Linked DNA regions of Homo sapiens: all the other regions are linked to region 1. Evidence: promoter capture Hi-C in 16 types of primary human blood cells and fetal thymus (Javierre and others, 2016). All regions are on one chromosome and are shown on one strand. Each heading gives the region's core, a stretch centred on a gene start or on the middle of the fragment in contact. The rest is flanking DNA. Distances are from core to core; before and after follow the strand shown. Region 1 holds the start of ANKRD33B (ankyrin repeat domain 33B). Region 2 overlaps MARCHF6 (membrane associated ring-CH-type finger 6). Region 3 overlaps LOC105374651 (a long non-coding RNA gene). Region 4 overlaps DAP (death associated protein). Region 5 overlaps MARCHF6 (membrane associated ring-CH-type finger 6). Region 6 overlaps CTD-2154B17.1 (a long non-coding RNA gene). Region 7 overlaps MARCHF6 (membrane associated ring-CH-type finger 6).

Evidence for each region. Contacts are between HindIII fragments. The CHiCAGO score rates a contact against its expected background, and 5 or more counts as called.
Region 2: a fragment that was not itself captured here is called in contact with the fragment with the promoter of ANKRD33B in region 1 in 2 of 17 cell types (neutrophils and total B cells); the score reaches 14.6 in neutrophils.
Region 3: a fragment that was not itself captured here is called in contact with the fragment with the promoter of ANKRD33B in region 1 in 1 of 17 cell types (neutrophils); the score reaches 11.9 in neutrophils.
Region 4: a fragment that was not itself captured here is called in contact with the fragment with the promoter of ANKRD33B in region 1 in 1 of 17 cell types (total B cells); the score reaches 5.3 in total B cells.
Region 5: a contact is called between a fragment that was not itself captured here and the fragment with the promoter of ANKRD33B in region 1, in 3 of 17 cell types (neutrophils, total B cells and naive B cells). The highest score is 17.6, in neutrophils.
Region 6: a contact is called between a fragment that was not itself captured here and the fragment with the promoter of ANKRD33B in region 1, in 2 of 17 cell types (neutrophils and total B cells). The highest score is 6.5, in neutrophils.
Region 7: a contact is called between a fragment that was not itself captured here and the fragment with the promoter of ANKRD33B in region 1, in 3 of 17 cell types (neutrophils, total B cells and activated CD4 T cells). The highest score is 12.8, in neutrophils.

The regions. Positions count from the first base shown.
Region 1 is chr5:10,562,815-10,565,996 of GRCh38, forward strand. It overlaps ANKRD33B (ankyrin repeat domain 33B), which reads left to right and starts at 1,256. Exons shown (of 4, transcript NM_001164440.2): 1 at 1,256-2,019. The coding sequence starts at 1,654. RefSeq lists silencers at 840-1,699, 2,040-2,089, 3,060-3,109 and enhancers at 1,319-2,213, 2,214-3,107, 2,230-2,439, 2,760-2,809, 2,830-2,919. The HindIII fragment of the contact is 7,834 bases long and covers 1-3,182 here.
Region 2 is chr5:10,357,322-10,360,195 of GRCh38, forward strand. All of the region lies in intron 1 of MARCHF6 (membrane associated ring-CH-type finger 6), which reads left to right. Among named protein-coding and RNA genes, the nearest start is that of MARCHF6-DT, 4.7 kb to the left of the region's middle. The HindIII fragment of the contact is 7,315 bases long and covers 1-2,874 here.
Region 3 is chr5:10,326,795-10,329,842 of GRCh38, forward strand. LOC105374651 (a long non-coding RNA gene) reads left to right here. Exons shown (of 5, transcript XR_925786.3): 3 at 1,500-1,595. Among named protein-coding and RNA genes, the nearest start is that of CMBL, 20 kb to the left of the region's middle. The HindIII fragment of the contact is 4,718 bases long and covers 1-3,048 here.
Region 4 is chr5:10,737,383-10,740,168 of GRCh38, forward strand. All of the region lies in intron 2 of DAP (death associated protein), which reads right to left. Among named protein-coding and RNA genes, the nearest start is that of DAP-DT, 22 kb to the right of the region's middle. The HindIII fragment of the contact is 5,428 bases long and covers 1-2,786 here.
Region 5 is chr5:10,380,830-10,383,650 of GRCh38, forward strand. MARCHF6 (membrane associated ring-CH-type finger 6) reads left to right here. Exons shown (of 26, transcript NM_005885.4): 4 at 971-1,114. Among named protein-coding and RNA genes, the nearest start is that of MIR10397, 20 kb to the right of the region's middle. The HindIII fragment of the contact is 3,399 bases long and covers 1-2,821 here.
Region 6 is chr5:10,774,156-10,777,076 of GRCh38, forward strand. It overlaps CTD-2154B17.1 (a long non-coding RNA gene), which reads right to left. Exons shown (of 4, transcript NR_188230.1): 3 at 2,809-2,906; 4 at 486-1,145. Among named protein-coding and RNA genes, the nearest start is that of CTD-2154B17.1, 11 kb to the right of the region's middle. The HindIII fragment of the contact is 6,699 bases long and covers 1-2,921 here.
Region 7 is chr5:10,402,540-10,405,310 of GRCh38, forward strand. MARCHF6 (membrane associated ring-CH-type finger 6) reads left to right here. Exons shown (of 26, transcript NM_005885.4): 14 at 1-68; 15 at 868-1,002. Among named protein-coding and RNA genes, the nearest start is that of MIR10397, 1.6 kb to the left of the region's middle. The HindIII fragment of the contact is 1,621 bases long and covers 654-2,274 here.

The sequences.
Region 1 (3,182 bases), core at 6-2,505:
GGGGCCGCCAGCAGGCCCTTTGGCTCCTGCTGGAGACACTGGAAGACCAGGCGACCAGGACAGCGGGTCGGGCCAGTGCGGTGTGACACGAGGGCTCGAGCGGCTTCGCAGTTTAAACGTGTCCTCATCCTACACCTCCCACGGCTGTTTCGGATTCGGTGCCCTCGTGCCCCTCAGCTTGCCCAGCGGCACGTGGGCCTCAAGCCTGGTCCCCAGCGGCTGCGCCAGCCTAGCTGTGTTCACCTTGGGGCCGCGAGGGCCTCCCACCGGCTGGCAGCTGGTGGACACGCTGTCAAGATCGGGGGAAAAAAAGGAAGGAAGGAGGCTAGGGGGACACAGGGCTGGTGGCCTCCGCAGTCTTTGACCTGCGACGGGCGCGAGCGCACCTCCGCGCCTTTGCGCAGAGACCTTCCCCCAAGATTGGCTCACGACGCCTCCTACCCCGAAGTCAAGGGCTCCCTGTGGCAAATCCTCACACGCCCTCCTCCTCCCCGCCCATCCCCGGCGCCAGGACTGACGGGGAGAGGGCAAGGCCGGGCCAGAGGGGCTGTGGGCCTGGACTGCGGCTGTCGCCCGCGGCCCTGCTCTTTTGGGCAGCCAGACGTGGGGTCAGCGCCCAGTCGCAGCCTCCGGGGGTGAGTCCGCAGATCCCCGCACGTGACACAGGCCAGGCATGGGGACGGGGAGTTCCTCGTCGTCCGTTCCCACTCAGATGCTCCCTGAGGTTCCGGAACACCCCGCCCCCCATCCCAGGATCTGACCAACCCTCAAGCCACGGCCGGCCCCGGTTCCGCGAGACGGGGGACTCTGAGGATTGTCCTCCCTTCCGGGCTGGGACTCCCCCACAGCAGCCGACCGCCCCCAGTTCAGAGTGGCCCGGCCCGCAGCGCTCCCCGGGCACAGGTCCCAGGTGGACGGCTCCGCTCCCGCGCCCGGCTCCTCTGCCCGCCAAGCGCCCCGGGGATTCCCCGGCCTCCAAGCGGCCGCGGCCGGGTGGAGTCAGCCCCGAAGCCCGGGATCCCCCGAAGGGAGAAAACCCGCTCTGCTCCTCTGAAGCGGCGGGAGAAACCGGCCCCACCCAGGTCCGGGGGCCCGACGCCCTCGGCGGAGGCCGGCTCCAGGGGTCCGAGGTTCCCGAAGCTGGAGGCCGGCTCCGCCCCGGCGTCCCCCCGCCGCCACCTCCGCCCCCATCCCGCGGGCCGGCGGAGGGAGGGGCGGGGCCGCTTGCCGCCCGCGACTCGGGTTCGGCTTCTTTAGTGATTGCTTCTGCTTCTCCCGCGCCAGCTGTCCCCAGCTCTGGGGCAACGCTGCCAGGTGCCCAGTCCCCGCGCTCGAGAGAGCGCCTGCCTGGCTCTGAACTCTGGCCAGGAAGGGGCGCGAGGGGAAGGCCCCGGGGGAAGGCGTGTCCCCGCGCCCCGCCCCGCCCCGCCTCGGAAAGCCCCCGCGGTCCCGCCCACCCCAGGGGCTCGCTCAGCCTCCGGAGACTTTTTTCTTTGAGCGCAGCCGCCTGGTGCCGGTTTCCGCCGAGCTGGAGCGCGCGGGCCACGGCTTCTCTGGGGACGCAGAAGCGAGAAGCGGGGACCTCGGCGCGCGCCCCGCGTCCCGCTCTTCCTGCCCGCGCCCCGGCCCCCGGCCCGCGCCCCGGCCGCCGGCATGGTGCTGCTGGCCGGGACCGGGCCGGAGGGCGGCGGGGCGCGCTGCATGACCCCACCACCGCCGTCCCCACCCCGGGGCGCGCAGGTCGAGGAGGACCCCGCTGACTACGAAGAGTTTGAGGACTTCTCGAGTCTGCCAGACACCCGCAGCATCGCCTCGGACGACTCTTTCTACCCTTTCGAGGACGAGGAGGAGCACGGCGTCGAGAGCGCGGAGAGCGTCCCGGAGGGCGTCCCGGAAAGCGTCCCGGAGACGGCGACCCTCCTGCGCGCCGCCTGCGCCAACAACGTGGGGCTGCTGCGGACGCTGGTGCGGCGCGGGGTGAGCGTCGAGGAGGCGCAGGAGACTGACCGCAACGGCAGGGTAAGCGGGCGTCCCCGCAGGATTTGAGCCCCCTCACTGCCCCCACTCCCCTCCTCCCCACCACATCCCCGCGCCTCCCAGCTCCTGGCTCCGGACCGGTCCCTCGGTCACTCAGCCGCCGCCCAGAGCGCCTTTTCCCCGCTGTTTGGGAGCGCGGTGCCCTGGGTGGCTTCCCCGTCTCAGGCTGGGGGACGCGGTGCGGGGAGGGAGCAGTCGAGGTGTCAGCGCGGCAGAAACGCCAGTCCGGCGTCCTCACCGCATCCCCTTCTCGTTTACCGGTCCCCGTGGACCTCCTGACTGAATTCGCGCTGGCTGCCCGTGCTGCAATCCAGGATGGGCTTCTTGCGGCCCGGTCCCCTCCTGACTATTACCTTTCCCCAGGTCCCTGGCAGGGGACCATTCCTCCTCCCCTGCAGGAGACAGCCCCTCCTGCCCAGCGCCCCATTTGGCCCCTGGGCCCCTCGCGCCGCCCTTGTCCTAACACGCTGGGGCGCAGATCGGCTCCTCCAGCCGCAATGATTTGGAAGCAACAGTTTCTTCCCTCGCCGGGACAGCTTGGTCCCCTACCCCACCTCCGCTGAGCTTTGTGGCCCGCGCCGCGACCAGCCAACGTGATCTCTGACTGGTCTGTCCGCAGGTCACCTTCGCGAGCCAATGCCAGCCGGGGCTCCCCAGAGTCAGGGCATAGGGAGAGCCCCAGAGCCGCGGGCATCCACCCGGGTAGGGCAGGAGGCGTGGAGGCAGGCACAGGCTATCCTTTCGTTATGACCAGATTCAGAGAAAACGAGATGTTTAGAAAAGAAAAGAAAAGAAAGGAAAAGAAAAAAAGTTGGCTTAAGAAGACCTGAGAAGGACTGGCTGGTGGAACACCTTCCACCAAGCAAAGCACTTCAAGGGAAAACTGCAGAGTGACCACGGTGGCCAAGTTCCCCGTAGTCTGTGCTCAGTGGGCAAATGGCAGCGTTCTCACCTGATTTTTGTATTGTCCAAGGACCGTGGTATCTGCAGATGCAGCCTAGCACAAATGCACATGCTTTTTGCTCAGGAGCCTGCAGCTGACAGAAAACATGTGCTTTGACTTGGGGACCCGGGTGACCTTGTGCCTTTGGTTTATCCTGCAGTGGGTGGGGCAAGTGGTTTGCCCTGACTGTGGTTTGGGCTGG
Region 2 (2,874 bases), core at 189-2,688, 210 kb before region 1:
CCACATTTCGGCTCAGTGATATAAAGCTGAGGTTTTTTTTTTTTTCTTTTCCATTTTGCTAAATTACTGCTTGTATTAGCACAACATAATACAAAGTCTTAGTAATTTTATTACAGAATACCAAAGCAGCTGTTCTTTATGCTTTACGGAACATATTCATTCGAAAAGTGTGAAGCTAAAGAGTATTATGGTTGATCATGTTCTATATCACTATGGCAAAAATTTGAGGTAACTTAAATTTGGAAGAAATGAGTTAAAAGGATAGAAAGTTGTCAGAATCAGACAGCTAGTTCCTCTCTTTCTAGACCCACACAGTCTTCTTTGTTTCCAGAGATGTCTGCTGCATGTTTCTTACCACGCATTACCTTTCACTGTTTTGGCATGCTTGTGACCAAGTGTACATGCATTTATTCGTTAAATGTTTACTGAGGACCTGTTATGAGCCAGGCACTATTCTATGCATTTGGGCTAGGCAAGGAACAATATAGAGAAAATCCTTTCTTTCATAGAGCTTACATTATAGTTATTAGCTTAAGACAAAATAAACATGTAAATTATATGGCATAACTAGAAGGTTATAAACGCTGTGGAGAACAGTGAATTGGGAGGGAATAAGAAGTGCCAGGATATGAGGGCATGGGTTGCTTTTTTTTTTTTTTTTTTTGAGACGGAGTCTTGCTCTGTCACCCAGGCTGGAGTGCAGTGGCGCGATCTTGGCTCACTAGGGGTCGCAGTTTTAAATATAGCAGTAAAGGAAGGCCTCACTGAGAAGGAGCAAAGGAGAAGGAGTTAGCCATGCAGATACTCTGGGCAGAGCATTCCAGGCAGAGGGAACATAGCCTATGTGAAGTGTCTAAGATGGGAGCATGCCTAGAGTGTTCAATAAATCACCAGGAGAGCAGTGTAGCTGTAACGGAGTAAAAGAGTTGGAGAAGAGTAAGTATAATATGAGGTCAGAAAGATATGGAGCCAATGGGGAGAGAGCATGTAGGACTTCATTGACTTTTATAGTGAGATAGGGAGCTATGGGAGGGTTTTGAGCTGACGTGAGACATAAATTGTCTTGATATGCAGCCAGCTTTCTGTATTTGTGGGTTTCGCATCTGTGGATTCATCCAATGTCAGATGGAAAATACTTGGAAAAAAATAGATGATTACCTCTGTACTGAACATGTACAGCCTTTTTTTCTTGTCATTATTCCTCAAACAATACAGTATGATGACTACATAACATTTATGTTATAATTATTCTAAGTAATCTAGAGATAATTTAAAGTACAGTTGACTCTTGAACAACATGGGTTTTTGAACTACATGGGTCCACTTACACATGGATTTTTTTCTTCAATAAATATATTGAAAAAAATTTTGGAGATTTGCAGCAATTTGAAAAAACTTGCAGATGAACTGTGTAGTCTAGAAATAGTGAGAAAGTTAAAAAGTTATGTCATTAATGCATAAAATATATGTAGATACTAGTCTTTTACTCACTATCATAAAATATATACAAATCTGTCATGAAATGTTAAAATTTATCAAAACTTACACACACAAACATGTAATGGAGACTGTACATGGCACCATTCACAGTTGAGAGATGTAAAGAAACTTAAAGATACAGTATTAAATCATAACTGCATGAAATTAACCGTAGTGCATACTGTGCTACTGTAATAATTTTGTGGCCACCTTCCGTTGCTGTTGTTGTGAGCTCAAGTGTTGCTGTTGTTGGAGCTCATCTCTCCAGTAAATTGTATATGGTAAAAAGTATCTCTCTGGATTCTCTTGTATTTTTCATTGCATTTAGTGCAGTACCCTAAACTTTGAATAACATGATGGGATCCATATGAGGTGCCACTAAGTGATGCTGGAAGTGCTCCAGGAAGCTGAAAAAAGGCATGACATTATGAAGAAAAAGTCGAATTGCTTCATATGTGCCATAGATTGAGGTTTGTAGCTGTGGTTGCTGGCCATTTCAGAATGATTTATCTTGTAAACAGACAGGTATCAATAAATATGGTACAGTGCTGTAAATGTAATTTCCTTCTGATTTTCTTAATTTTTTTCTCTAGCTTTATTGTAAAAATAAAGTATATAATATAGAATACAGTATATAATATTACAATACATATTGTAAGAATGCAGCATATAATACAGTACGCAATACATATAATACAGTTTATGCATTCATGGCATAATTTTATTTTTTTTGCTCCTTCTAAGCTACACAGTTCATCTTTTTTTAAATTGTTGTGAATTTCCAAAAAATTCTCCAATATATTTATTGAAGAAAGAAATCCGCGTATAAGTGGACCCATGTAGTTCAAACTGTGATGTTCACAGATCTGTACTTTAAATAATCTCCTGAGTACTCATAATACCTAGTATAATGTAATACAAAGGCTGGGTGCGGTGGCTCACGCCTGTAATCCCAGCACTTTCGGAGGCGGTGGCAGGCAGATCACCTGAGGTCAGGAGTTCGAGACCAGCCTGGACAACATGGCGAAACCCTGTCTCTACTAAAAATAGAAAAAATTAGCTGGATGTGGTGGCGGGTGCCTGTAATCCCAGCTCCTTGGGAGGCTGAGACAGGAGAATGGCGTGAACGTGGGAGGCGGAGCTTGCAGTCAGCCGAGATCGCGCCACTGCACTCCAGCCTGGGCAACAGAGCAAGACTCCGTCTCAAAAAAAAAGTAGTACAATATGTGTATTAATCTACTGTTTATGTTGTATTATGTTATGGGAAGGCTTCTGGTCACCAGTAGGCTGTTAGTAGTTTTCCATTAGTAGTTTTTCGGGAGTCAAAAGTTGTATGTGTGTGTGTTTTTTTTTTTTTTTTTTTTTTGAGACAGAGTTTTGCTCTTTTTGCCCAGG
Region 3 (3,048 bases), core at 61-2,560, 240 kb before region 1:
CAAAAAATTAGCTGGGTGTGGTGGCACGCACCTGTAATCCCACCTACTCAGAGGCTGAGGCAGGAGAATCGCTTGAACCTGGGAGGCGGAGGTTGCAGTGAGCCGAGATTGTGCCACTGCACTCCAGCCTGGGCGACAGAGCGAAATTCTGTCCCCAAAAAATAAAAAAATGAAAAAATAAAATTTTAAAAATAAAAATAAAATGAAGACATGTTTATAGCAGCTCTATTTGTAATTGCCCCTAACTGGAAACAACTCAGACATCTCTCAGTGAACGAATGGATAAACAAATCTTAGTAACCCATATAATGAAATACTACTCAGATTTTCTTTCTTTTTTTTTTCTTTTTTTCTTTTTTTTTTTTTTTTGAGACGGAGTCTTGCTCTGTTGCCCAGGCTGGAGTGTAGTGGTGCGATCTCGGCTCACTGCAACCTCTGCCCTCTGAGTTCAAGCAATTCTCCTGCCTCATCCTCCCAAGTAACTGGGATTACAGACGCCGGCCACCGTGCCCGGCTAATTTTTTTTTTTCTTGTATTTTTAGTAGAGACAGGGTTTCACCATCTTGGCCAGGCTGATCTTGAACTCCTGATCTCGTGATCCACCCGCCTCGGCCTCCCAAAGTGCTGGGATTACAGGCATGAGCCACCGCGCCTGGCCTACTCAGATATTTTTTTAAAAGTATTCATACATCTTAAAACATGAATGAATAAGTGAAAGAGGTCAGTCTCAAAAGGTTACCACCTACCTGACTCCATTGATACGTCACTCTGAAAGGTGACCCTGCAGGAAGGGAAACCTGGTGATTGTGAATGGCTGAGGTCGGGGGTGGGTTTGACAGCAAAAACGTACTTGAGGGGGTTTTCTGAGGGAAGGAAATTGCTCTGTGTCCTGATTTTGGTGGTGGATACATATATCTGTACTATCTATACACCTGTTAAACTCACAGAACTGTACACCAAACTTGAAAGTCAATTTTGGCTGGGCACAATGGCTCACACCTGTAATCCAAAACTTTGGAGGCCAAAGCAGGAGGATTGCTTGAGCCTTGGAGTTTGAGATCAGCCTGGGCAACATAGTGAGACCATTTTATAGTATGCAAATTAAAATAATGTAAAATGCAGAAATAGACAAATATTATATAACATAGACAATAATTTCTTTTCTTTTCTTTCCTTTTTTTAATTTTTGAGACAGGGTCTCGCTCTCCTGCCCAGGCTGGAATGCAATGGCACAATCACTGCTCACTTGCAGCCTCCATCTCCCAGACCTAAGCTCTCCTTCTACCTCAGCCTCCTGAGTAGATGGGACCAGAGGCATGTGCCACTGTGCCCGGCTGATTTTTGTATTTTTTTGGCGAGACAGGGTCTCCCTATGTTGCCCAGGCTGAGCTGGGGCTCCTGGGCTCAAGCGATCCTTCTGTTTCGGCCTCCCAAAGTGTTGGGATTACAGGTGTGAACCCACCACGTTTGACAATAATTTCTTGTTCTTTTTTCTCCAGGTATTTGCTGCTCAGAATTGGCAAATAGAGGAATAAACTCTGTTACCAAATTCCTTAATTTCAGGAGAACCCATGAAAGGAGTATCATCCAATCAGGTGGGTTTTTTCCACTAAAACAACAGAGAAGTTCTTCCTGAAATCATAACCTGGGGGCATAAGTTTTAATTCAAATTCTTGCAAGTGATGTCATGATGTCAGGGTGAGACCACAGAGTACAGGGAAACCGCATCCTTTTGGAAACAGCAATGTCTACTAGTGCAGAGAGAGCTGCTTTGAAGAAAGGGCAGAAAGGGAGAGCACGATTTCACTAATGCAAACGGCAGTGAAGTGCAAAGGAGGGCAGCCTCCGGCTCCTTCCAGTTGGGAGCGAGCAAAGCACTGGAAAGGGCAAAATGAGGCACAATCACCATCATCAAACCCCTTTATCAAGTTCTTTTTTTTTTTTTAAGGCCGGGTCTCACTCTTGTTGCCTAGGCTGGAGTACAGTGGTGCGATCTCAGCTCACTGCAATCTCCACCTCCTGGGTTCAAGTGATTCTCCTGCCTCAGCCTCCCAAGTAGCTGGGATTACAGGCATGTGCCACCATGCTCAGCTAATTTCGTATTTTTAGTAGAGATGGGTTTTCACCATGTTGGTCAGGCTGGCCTCAAACTCCTGACTTCTGGCATGAGCCACTGTGCCCAGCATCAAGTTCTTTTTCTTTTCTCCCTGACTAGCTCTTAGTCTCAATGATCAAACTCCTCAGGCATGTTAAGTGGGTAAAGAGTATTTTATTTTGGCATTTGAATCTAAAATCATAGGCTTTCTTGAACAACCTTGCTTTCTTATTTCAAAGGTGAAACCCTACTCTACTGTTCCGGAAAGTTTGGAAATGTCTCATTTCTTTTTAGAGATGAGGTCTATTTTTATAGGAAAATGAATCCATCCTGTCACCTTTTAGGATACTATTTGCATTAATTATGTACTGCTGCAGAACAAATGTCCCTAAAACTTAGTAGCTTAAAACAACAATGTATTGTTCCTCACGATTCTGCTGGTCTCATCTGGGCTCACTGAGACTGGAGGGTCTAGATGACTTCATTCCTATGTCTGGGGCCTTGGTACAGCTGCCGGCTGGACTTTTCATCCGTGGACCCTGGGTGTTCCAAGTGATTAAAAATGGAATTTACAATACTTCTTAAGGCCTATTCTCAGAGGCTTCACAATGTCACTTCTGCTGCATTTTATTGGTTACAACAAGTCTCAAGGCCAGCTCAGAGTCAAGGGATAGAGAAATAGGTCCCACCTCTTGATTTCGGGAGAAGCAGCAAAGTCACATTGCAAAGGAGTGAGGACACAGGGACACTATTCACTAGGGGCCATGGCTGTAACAGTCTACCATACAATTGTTAGTGATGTTTAAAGTGGATATAAACATTGATTAAATTGCTCTTGGCTCTGAACCATTAGTAAACTGGATGAAATTCGGCTAAAGATGAATTTTGGATTGGAAGCCCACATTCAGCTCAGCTTTAATGTAGTTAACCCTTATTTCAAAACTATGAGAAAT
Region 4 (2,786 bases), core at 287-2,786, 170 kb after region 1:
AACAAAAAAAACTGGAGCTGAGAGCTGGCCGGTGCTCAGCATCCCTGGTCTACTGAAATCTCCACACACATGGTAGAGAACAGGGACACGCCCCTCTTAAAAGGCAGCTGGCAACTAGCCTGGATATAAAAGGTGACATTAGAACTTAAGGGTAATGTTGAAATTGGTTCACCAAACGGCTTAAAGTTCAAACATGCAGATCATGGCTAAAGATAAAAATTCCCAGGCATACATGCCTGAGATTTAAGCTGGCACATTGCTGGGCCATCTTTTAACTGAAGTTTTAAATTTTCTATTTATTATCTTAACAATGAACTTGACTGAGAGAACCATTAAAAATTGCTATAGATCACCATTTGGCATCTGCTACGGGTTGACTTGTGTCCTCCAAAAAAGGCATGCTGAAATCCTAACTCCCAGTACTTCAGAATGTGAGCTTATTTGGAAGTGGGATCTTTATTAATCCAGTTAAAATGAAGTCATCAGGATGGGTCCTAATCCAATATGACCAGTGTCCTTATGAAAAGGGGAAATTTGGACACAAAGACACACAAAGAGGAAAGATGATGTAGAGACACAGGGAGAAACCATGTAAAGGCACAGGACTGGAGTGATGCATCTACAAGCCAGGGGATGCCAGAGATTGCAGAAACCACCAGAAGCTAGGGGAGCAGCATGGAACACATGCTTCCCACAGCTCTCAGAAGCAACCAACCTGCCAACACCTTGCTTTCAGCATTCTGGCCTCCAGAACTGAGATGACAAATGTGTTATTTAAAGCCACCCAGGTTGTGGCATTTTGTTAAGGCAGCCCTGGGAAACAAATACAGTATATCTGCAGTAGTTACTGTTTCAGGCAAGCATCATCAGTGAATGCTGAAAGTAGCAGGCAAAAGTTTGATGAGAAACACAATACTCATAGAGTTGCAAAGTATTCCCCCATGAGATATGTATGAATTACAAAGGGTAAAATAGTAAATTGATAGTGGAGAAACTTGGCAGATGCCATCTTAACTGAACAATCAAAGCTGGCATCACCGGCCATGAGATGGGGAGTGTCGTGTACCTCCTGATCCAATGCATCAAGAAGGACAAGACCTCGCTTCTGTGCAGCCCCTGCCCTGAAAGCAGGACCTGAATCCAATCATGAAGGCACATCAGAAAAATTGAACTGAGGAAAATCCTACAAAATAAATGACCTATACTCTTCAAACATGTCAAGGTCATGAAAGATTTTAAAAAGCTGGATAACTGTTCTAGATTAAAGGCGACTAAAGATATATCACTAAATGAAGGTATAATCCTGGACTGAAATTTGTGGCAGTAGTGGGAAAATGGGCCAAGTCTGAAGAGTCTGTAGATTAGATAACACTACTGTTTCAATGTTAGTTTCCTGATTTTGATAATTATACAGTACTTGCTTTTAGTAAACACACACTAAAGCATTCCAGAGTAAAAGAGCTCTTCAGAAGAAAGTTCGTATAAACAGACAGATGTAGATTTAGATATATGTGAGCGTTAAGAAATGGGAGGAGCAGGGCTGGGTGCAGTGGCTCATGCCTGTAATCCCAGCACTTTGGGAGGCTGAGGAGGGTGGATCACAAGGTCAGGAGATCGAGACCATCCTGGCTAACACGCTGAAACTCTGTCACTACTAAAAATACAAAAAATTAGCCGAACGTGGTGGCATGTGCCTGTAGTCCCAGCTGCTGGGGAGGCTGAGGCAGGAGAATGGCGTGAACCTGGGAGGTGGAGCTTGCAGAGAGCCGAGATCGCACTACTGCATTCCAGCCTGGGTGACAGAGCAAGACTCTGAATCAAAAAAAAAAAAAAAAAAAAAAAAAGAAAGAAAGAAATGGGAGGAGCAGCAAGTGTGGTGAAATTTTACCATATGAGGAATATGGTGAGGGGTAGATGGGATTTTTTTAGTACTTTTTTTTTTTGGCAATTTTTCTGTATGTCTGAAATTATTTCAAAACAAAAAGTTTTAAAAAATCACCACAGATGTAATAACAGCTATCACTTAATACGTGACTGAGATGGTTGAGGTGTTTTTATATGTTGTCTAATTGACCAGTGAATTATAATCACATGAGGCAAATATTATGATTCCCACTGGCACTCTAGGCCTCACCCAGGACCAAGAAGAGGTCCATCTTGGTTGGAAAGGGATGAGGGAACTGAAAGGCTCTCGCCCACAAGGCTCAGCACACACACAGAGCCTGCTGAAGTCCAATGGCAGGGCAGGAAAATAGACACACCTTCCAGGCATTCATATCCTAAGCCACTACAAGTGGGAAGGTTATAATCCTACCTTCAATTAATTTGATATTTGTGAGGTCTTGAATCTAACTTAAGCAGCAATACAGCCCAGGCCCGGTTCAACTATAAATACTAAATTAACTCACACACACACACACACACACACACACACACACGAATGGGTTTGAACAGAAAAGGCATGCTGTTTTCTGGACTGATGTAAATATTATTTACTTCAGCTTCTAGTGTTATTTCTGTCTCTGTCATTCTTTTACACACCAGGTTTTACTTTACTTAAAAATTAAAAGACCCTCGAAGAAGTGATGTGACCCACTGTAAAGAAACAAACAGTTAACAGAATGAGGGACCAAGCCTGGATGTTGGACTCATCAGATGAAGATTTAAAATAACTGTGATAAATATCTGTGAAAAGACAGGAAATTTCAGCAGAGAAATGGAAGCTATACATTTTTAAAAGCCAAATGGAAGTGGAAATGAAAAACAGGATATCAAAGATGAATTCT
Region 5 (2,821 bases), core at 95-2,594, 180 kb before region 1:
GGCAGGAGAATCACTTGAACCTGGGAGGCGGAGTTTGCAGTGAGCTGAGATTATGCCACCGCACTCCAGCCTGGGCAACAGAGTGAGACTCTGACTCAAAAAAAAAAAAAAAAGGTGCTATTTGTCAGTTGTTTATTTCTCAATGTTTATAGGTGTGAACAGTTTTGTGATAGTGTTCTTATAAATTTTAGATCATTGCTTTTAAACCCTGATATATCATAATTTCTTGTTTTGGCCTTACTGGAGAAAGAATTGTTTGTTTTTCCTTTATGTTCTTTCCGAGCTACCTGTGGTAGAGGTTTTTGATAATAGGCAGTGGTTTTTTATTGGAACCATTTTAAAAGGGAATCCTTTTTAAATGTGGCAGAACTTTTCTTTTTCTGAATGTGTTGAGCCACATTTCTCAGAGTAGTGGGAAGATCTGAATTTATCATTTGAAATTTTAAGTATTATGCTAACATCGGGAAAGTGGCTAACAAATGTCAGTGGGATGTTTGCTCCCACATGAAATGATCTGCTGCGGACTGTTGTGCTTTTTGAGTGCTATTTAATGCTTATATTTGGGGGAGTGTTGATGGCTTGTTGTCAGCTTCATCTTTTGCTCCTGTTTGCTTTATTACATCTTTTATAGTTTGGGAAACCAGATGATTATATTGGTTGAATGTTAAAATGTGTGTAAATGGGCCTTGTATGAGGTTCATGGCTATTAGCAAGGGATGTGAACATCTATTGAATTTTTTTTTCCTGCCCAGAGGCCTTTGTTGATTTCCACGTTTCACATGTGATTTGCCTCATAAATGACTTCTTGGGTAAATGTGATATTATAACTATTTGGTTTATTTTTTTTAAATAGGAAAAAAATTAAGCACAAGGCAAATATTGGAAGTTTAGTTAATGTCTATTTTATATTTATGAATTAAGCTATTTTCGAATCTTCATGAAACTGTAAGTACTTTTTTTCCGCTTATAGTTTATTCTCCAGATATGCCTTCACGGCTTCCAATTCAAGACATATTTGCTGGACTGGTTACAAGTATTGGCACTGCAATACGATATTGGTTTCATTATACACTTGTGGCCTTTGCATGGTTGGGAGTTGTTCCTCTTACAGCATGTGAGTATTCATGCCTCTGATTGGAGTTATTTAAACATTGCATAACTACTTAATATTATAAAGCAATATTGCATCATATTATTATTTGACTGATGTTTAGTTATTTGATGTCAGAGTGTCATGTATTAGGAAAGCCTTACTTAGAAGATGTTCATCGGAACTAAGAATGAGTTTAACAGGTCAGTTTTTTGAGTGAATGTGGGAAAGAACACAGCATACAGAATGGCTAACCATGAAAGTTCATGAAAGCGTTGAAAAAATCAAATCAAATCATAATTAGATATGAAGTATGCTAGAGCTTTCAAGGGCTACAAAAGACGGCCGGGCGCGGTGGCTTATGCCTGTAATCCCAGCACTTCAGGAGGCCGAGGCAGGCGGATCACGAGGTCAGGAGTTTGAGACTAGCCTGGCCAACATGGAGACTGAGGCAGGAGAATTGCTTAAACCCAGGAGGCGGAGGTTGCAGTGAACTGAGATCGCACCACTGCACTCCAGCTTGGGCAACAGAGCAAGACTTTGTCTCGCAAAAAAAAAAAAAAAAGGACTGCAAAAGATGAATTCTTTTGGGATTCTGCAACCCTCCTTTAAAAAAATACTCACATGGCCAGGCGTGGTGACTCACGCCTGTAATCCCAGCACTTTGGGAGGCCGAGGTGGGAGCATCACTTGAGGTCAGGAGTTTGAGTCCAGCTGACCAACAAGGTGAAACCCTAGCTCTACTGAAAATACAAAAATTAGCCGGGTGTGGTGGTGTGTGCCTGTAATCTCAGCTACTCAGGAGGCTGAGACAGGAGAATCACTTGAACCTGGGAGGCAGAGGTTTCAGTGAGCTGAGATCATGCCACTGCATTCCAGCCTGGGCAACGGAGTGAGACTTTGCCTCAATAAAATACAAATAAAATTTAAAAATACTCATACATGTAATGGTCATAAATAATTGGGAGGCTTATCTTTCAGATATAGGAGGCTCTTTGGGAGGGTGGTATACTAATCAACCCCCCTAATCAATCCAAAGAATCCTCTTGGATTCTTTGTTGTTCTTATAGACATGGAGAGAAGTACATAGTATATGGGAGGCAGAGTATATAGATAAGATTCATTAGAGTTAAACTAAATGTTTAATTAGTATAATTGATATCTTCATGTCTCCTTAAAATATGATAAAATAATCTTGATTACCTATGGAAATGAAATTCTTGGAAGATACCAACTAGCAGAATATAGGTACTGTTGAAGAGTGAGTTAGCTAGAAAATGTATCAAGGAATTCTCCCAGGATGAAACTCAGAGGGACAAATAGTTACAAGTATGAGAAATAAATATTGACAAATGGAGGCTAGTCTAGTCTGTCTAGTAAGTAGTTCCACAAGGTAAAAGAGATAATGGAGATGAGGAAACAATTGGTGTCTTTTAGATTGAACGAGAAAGCTGACCATGGTAAAGGAAAAGTCTCATGAACCTAGACATATTCTCAAGTTTTCTGGAGCTGGGTAGGGTGGCGATGGTGATAGAGGTATAGAGATTGTATGCTTCCAGATTATCCTACAAAGTAAAGAAAATCAGAGTGGCATCAGACTTAAAATTAGCAATGTTGAATGCTAGAAGACAATGGAAACTCAAAATTTGATGTTTTTGAACCTAAAATTCCCTTTCTGCAAATTACTCTCAGATTGAAGGACAAACTACAGATGTTTCAATGGATGTGAGG
Region 6 (2,921 bases), core at 277-2,776, 210 kb after region 1:
GAAATAATAATGTTCTAGCTGTACTGTACCATTATCGCTAATTGTAATTTTATTCTCAACTAGAGTACCTTTGAGTATTGTTTACTACAGGGTTGGTAAACAGTAGTCTGCAAGGCAGGTCTGACCTGGTGCCTGTTTGTGTAAAGTTTTATTGGAACACAGTCATGCCCATTTCTTTACATATTGTTCATTGCTGCTTTTTGGCTACAATGGCGGGGTTGAGGAGTCGTGGCAGACACATTTGGCCCCCAAAGTACAATAAATTGACTCTAGCCCTTTGCAGAAGGTTTGCCATCCCCTGCTCTGCTGCATCACTTCACACACCAACAAAGGCAGCAGCTCAAGGTTAGGCATAGACATTTGTAGACACAAAATCAGATCACAAATGCCTTCCTTCACATTTTAGCTCACATGCAGGTATCAGCAAAGAAGAGGAAACAAAGTGCTTTGTACTCAGAAAGTATTTCAGATAATGAATCACTTTATGATTTTCCATGATTTATTTTTAACTCTTACTTTTCCAATTATTTATTTATTTATTTATTTATGAAATGGAGTCTCACTGTGTCACCCAGGCTGGAGTGCTGTGGTGCGATCTCGCCTCACTGCAGCCTCCTCCTCCCGGGTTCATGCCATTCTCCTGCCTCAGCCTCCCGAGTAGCTGGGACTGCAGGCACTCGCCATCACGCTCGACTAATTTTTTGTATTTTTAGTAGAGACAGGGTTTCACCGTGTTAGCCAGGATGGTCTTGATCTCCTGACCTCATGATCCGCCTGCCTCGGCCTCCCAAAGTGCTGGGATTACAGGCGTGAGCCACCGCACCTGGCCAAGTATTTTAAGGCTTCTATTCAAAACTAAAACGAACTGTTAGAAAAAATGTAATATCTGAAATATATCATTCTGAATATATTTTTGTAAATATCTAATCACAAATGGTCATTTTTTAATGGAATAGTAAAGGCCAGACTTGATCTAACACCAGCAACAGTAAACAAGTGGGAGAAAAACAAACATCTCTCCATGAATCCAATTGCGTGAGTGCCCTTGTTCACTACAGAGTGCTTTTCTTGATGATGAAATAAGAATGTCTACCTTTAGAACAATTGTCATTCAGTGGGAGGTATGGAGTCAGCCTGGAGCACCTCTAAAAATAAAAAAATTATGAAATTCAGAAACTTATAAAATTCAAACATATTCCCTTTTCCTAGCAGGCAGTAAAATGACAGCCGTGTGAAACTCATGATTACAGTTAAGAAAGGAATAGAACAGAGGTCCCATTTGATCACTGTTGGGGTTAGACCTATTAGAAGATGCATGCTCTGGAAAAAGAAGCCAATGACGAGAGCAAAAGGGCCGAGCAGCCAGGGTTGTTGCTGTTTATGTCTTTGTTGACCTATCCATCCATAATCATATATTTTGAGCACCAGCTTTGCACGAGGCATCACCTTAGAGGTAAAAAAGAAAAAAATGAAATAAAAATAAGTCTTCCTCTAGCCTTATCATAGTTCTGCGAGGTCTTGGGTCTTTGGGGAGAACAGAGAGACCCCAGCCCCAGTGTTCACATCGCTTTGCCAATGCCCACACTTATGTGGGTATCTATCTGCAGCTCCATCATGCCCTGGAATGGCTCTAAGACATGCTTCTGTGCTTCTTGCTGCAGCTCCTCCCAGTGGCCAACAGCAATGATCTGTCCCCTGTCTAGGGGCTCCCATATACCCACTCTCCACCTGCCAGCAGAGCCCAGTCTGCACCCTCAGGTGGAGGGACAAACACAAGATGGGCCTGAGACGGGCTGGCTGAGCCTGAATCCAGCATTCTACCTTGATGAATCTCCTACTCTCTTGGCTTTCGATTCCCCCAGGGTAGAGCAAGGGGCTGTGTTCAGAGATGGATGGCTCCTCCAGCTTTAACCTGTTGAGTCTGCACAGGGAGCCATCTCCTGGTTGCAACCAAGTCAGGGCATGGAGTGGAGCAAGAGTTAGAGGCCCCACAGCAGGAGTGGACTCCACACCAAGATCCTCAGCTTAGCCTGGGAAGTTTGGATTTCTTTGGTTACGTTTAAGACACAAAACTGATTGAAGAGAGATTCACAATAGAGATTATGGAAACTAGCAAATAAACGGAAACATTGCTTCCGGCCCGTGAGTGGCAGGTTAGAGATTTAGCTGGGAACCTGGAACTTTGTCTTCCAATTCTGCTTCTGCCACTTGCTGGCTGTAAGATTTGGGGCAAGTTACTTCACCTATTCATACCTCAGTTTCTTCAAGAGTGAAATGGGAATATGAGGGGCCTGCCTCAGTGGGCCCTTGTTTAAAGAAGCTATTATGTTTAAAGACTATAGAACAACACAGGCAAACTGTGAGCACATGTTAGGCTGGTGCAGCACAGCCTCAGGGAACAGAGAGAAGGCCAGGGCTCTGGCCCTCATCTCTAACCCTGAGTGGTGACTCAGGCTGCTGCCCCAATGGCCTAAACAGTAGCTGCAGAGGCCTGACAAAACCCAAAAGCTATACAAAGGCTCAGGTCTTGGAGATCAGTCTAGGTTTTCACTGGTGAGAAGGAAGAGGCCCTTCAGAAGATCCTAGAGAAGCCCCCAGGCTCTGACATCCACGGCCAGTCCACAAACTCTCTACCACTGCTAGGCAAACAGGCAGCAACGGCTCTCCCTCCTTCCTCATTCCCACCAGCCTCCCAGTCCAGGCGTCTTTTTCTCTTTAAAGGTTCCCAGATGTGAATTTGAAAGGTAAGGAAGGAGAGGCAGACAAGAGAAGGGAAAAGATGTGGTTGGAGTTGCCCCTGATACTCACATTCTTCTAGAAAGAACATTCCTCAGCCTCCCACTGTATGCAAGGCTCTGAGCAGCTGATCGTCCAGACTAGTGAAGGCCCAGCTCTGTTCTGATGGGCTGAGATGGAAGAGA
Region 7 (2,771 bases), core at 214-2,713, 160 kb before region 1:
TGTTAGTGGTGGTAGAAATTGGAGTATTCCCTCTCATTTGTGGTTGGTGGCTGGATATCTGTTCCTTGGTAAGTTGAGTATTCATTATTGTATAATAGCATAATTTAAGGGCTTCAAAAGAGGAAGTCTTCAGCATGTATTCTTTTTAAAGGAAAGCAAATATTTGATAATTTGCTTATTCTTTTGGCATGTGTATCAGTATAGGATCTTAATGTTAATTTTTCTTGAGTACCTGAGTTTTTGAGGCTTTGTGCAAATTTTTGATGTCAGGATAGTTTGGGTGGAATCTTTCTAATAGTGGAGGATTTTATTGCCCATTTTGCTGTCGTAAATTTGTGTAGATAATGCCAAGACATTATATACATAGAGAATAATTTGATAAGGAAACTGTCTTTGTAGTAATAAATTTAACCCTAATCATTTGATTTAACTAATATGCTCAGTCTTGATTATACTCTTTAATTGCTGTTAGTGATAATCAGTTTTTGATTGTTTCAAAAATATTTTATGTGTAGAAAAGCTGCCTTTGGTTCTGAGATAACATTTACCCTCCCATACCTTACTTTTAAAACTTCTCAAGAATGCAGACCTATAACCAAGAAAATTTTTTACATTCATCAAAAATAGTTCTTTAATAGAATCAGTATTAATAAAGCTTTTACTAATTGGTTTATCATTCTTTATATTTGAAGCAGTAGCCAATCTTGTATATAGTTCTGTGACACCGTGGAATGACATTAAGTGAACTGCAGTTCTAGGAATTGTTCCTTGCATGCATATTGATTATTTATTTCCTAGAAGATGAAAATGTTAACTTGGCAAATGTAGGGGGCACAGATTTCTCTTACCTGTCCTCTTTTGTCTCAGGAAATGTTTGATGCTACTCTGAAAGATCGAGAACTGAGCTTTCAGTCGGCTCCAGGTACTACCATGTTTCTGCATTGGCTAGTGGGAATGGTATATGTCTTCTACTTTGCCTCCTTCATTCTACTACTGAGAGAGGTAAGTCCACAGGGAAATGCTGATGCTGTACATTTATAAAAAGGACTTTTGCTTTCACCACCAGTCATGTCTCAAAGGCTATGATGATTTCCTACCTAAATCATATTCTCTACTATTTTATTCTAAGAGGGAATAACTTATAGGGGACTTTGACTTAATTACTTTAAACTGTTTCAGTTGTTTGTCTCCATAATTGGCAAGTTTTAATATTTCTGTCTGAGTTTGAAAGACGATTCAACTGAGGAAAAAGATAAGAGTACTCATTTTGTCACACTTCGTATATACTTTAGCCATCCTCTAATACAGACTCTTGGAATTTTGTATGATGTGAGTGTGTCTCAGACTTCAAGGAACTGTACTGCTGGAAATAACCAAAAGGATATGGTTTTGCAGGATCAGACATGTAAAATCATTTTGATTTAGGCGCCTTAAGTATAGAATTACAATGAGGGTCCTTTATGATTCCAGTTCACTGGCCTGATGGATTACCTTTATTTATTTATTTATTTATTTATTTATTTATTTATTTATTTATTTACTTATTTACTTTTTGATACTGAGTCTTGCTCTGTTGCCCAGGCTGGAATGTAGTGCCATGATCTTGGAACCTCCACCTCCCAAGTTCAAGTGATTCTCCTGCTTGAACCTCCCAAGTAGCTGGGACTGCAGGCACCCACCACCATGCCCGGCTAATTTTTGTATTTTTAGTAGAGACAGGGTTTCACCATGTTGGCCAGGCTGTTCTTGAACTCCTGACCTCAAATGATCCACCCACCTTGGCCTCCCAAAGTGCTGGGATTACAGGTGTGAGCCACTGTGCCTGGCCTGATACCTTTATTAGTTCTATGTTTCTAATCTGGTTCTTAGTGATTTGAAGATGATGAAAGCAGTTGAGTATTTGATTAGTGTACATCTCAAGCTCAGTCATTCCCCAAATACTGAATGGTCACTGTGTGCCGGACACTATACTGCATTCTGGGGTTTCAGTGAGAAACAAAGGCACAATTCCTGTTCTCCTCGATTTTATAGCCTGAAAATGAATACAGCATTGAAAATGTTGGTTTACACGGAGACGGGTGATGGAGATGTGCAGGGTGTGGAGGACCAGGTTGACAATTCCAGTGAGAAGGGAACACAAAAGCACAAAGGCTGAATGCTGCTCTTGGTGTACTTTGTTCTTTGAAAGATTTGAGGAAGAGGAGGAGGGGTCAGGGACCAAAGCATTCTCCTGAATCATACGGTATAATTTCAGTAAATTCTCTTGGTAACTAAAGCTTTCATTCTTTCTTTGAAACAACTGATTGAGAACTAAAGCAAGTACAGAAATGTGTTTCTTAAAAATGTAATTATATGTGAACTCCAGATTACTTCATTAAGTGAATAAAATGCTTTATAATGATTTCTTTCATTTTATCAGTGTGGTGGTTTTTGTTGATATAAAATTTTAATATGTGGAACTTAGGCAGAACCTTAGAAATCACACACTGTAACCCCTTGTTTAGGAGATGGAGAATAGAAGTTTGGGCAGATTAGATGCGTTACACAGAGGGTAACTCAGTGAGTTTGGACCACATAGAACTAGTACCCAGACTCCTCCTTTACCCCATCACCTGCAGCCTCTTGGGTGATGATTTTCATTTACAGGGGGAAGGCAAATCAGACCGTCTATTTAGTACATTTATAAATTGCAACATAACCCTTTTACGATAGTAATGGTTGTATTTATTTTTCGTCTCAGAGGTCTAGATTTCTTGACACATTGGACCCAA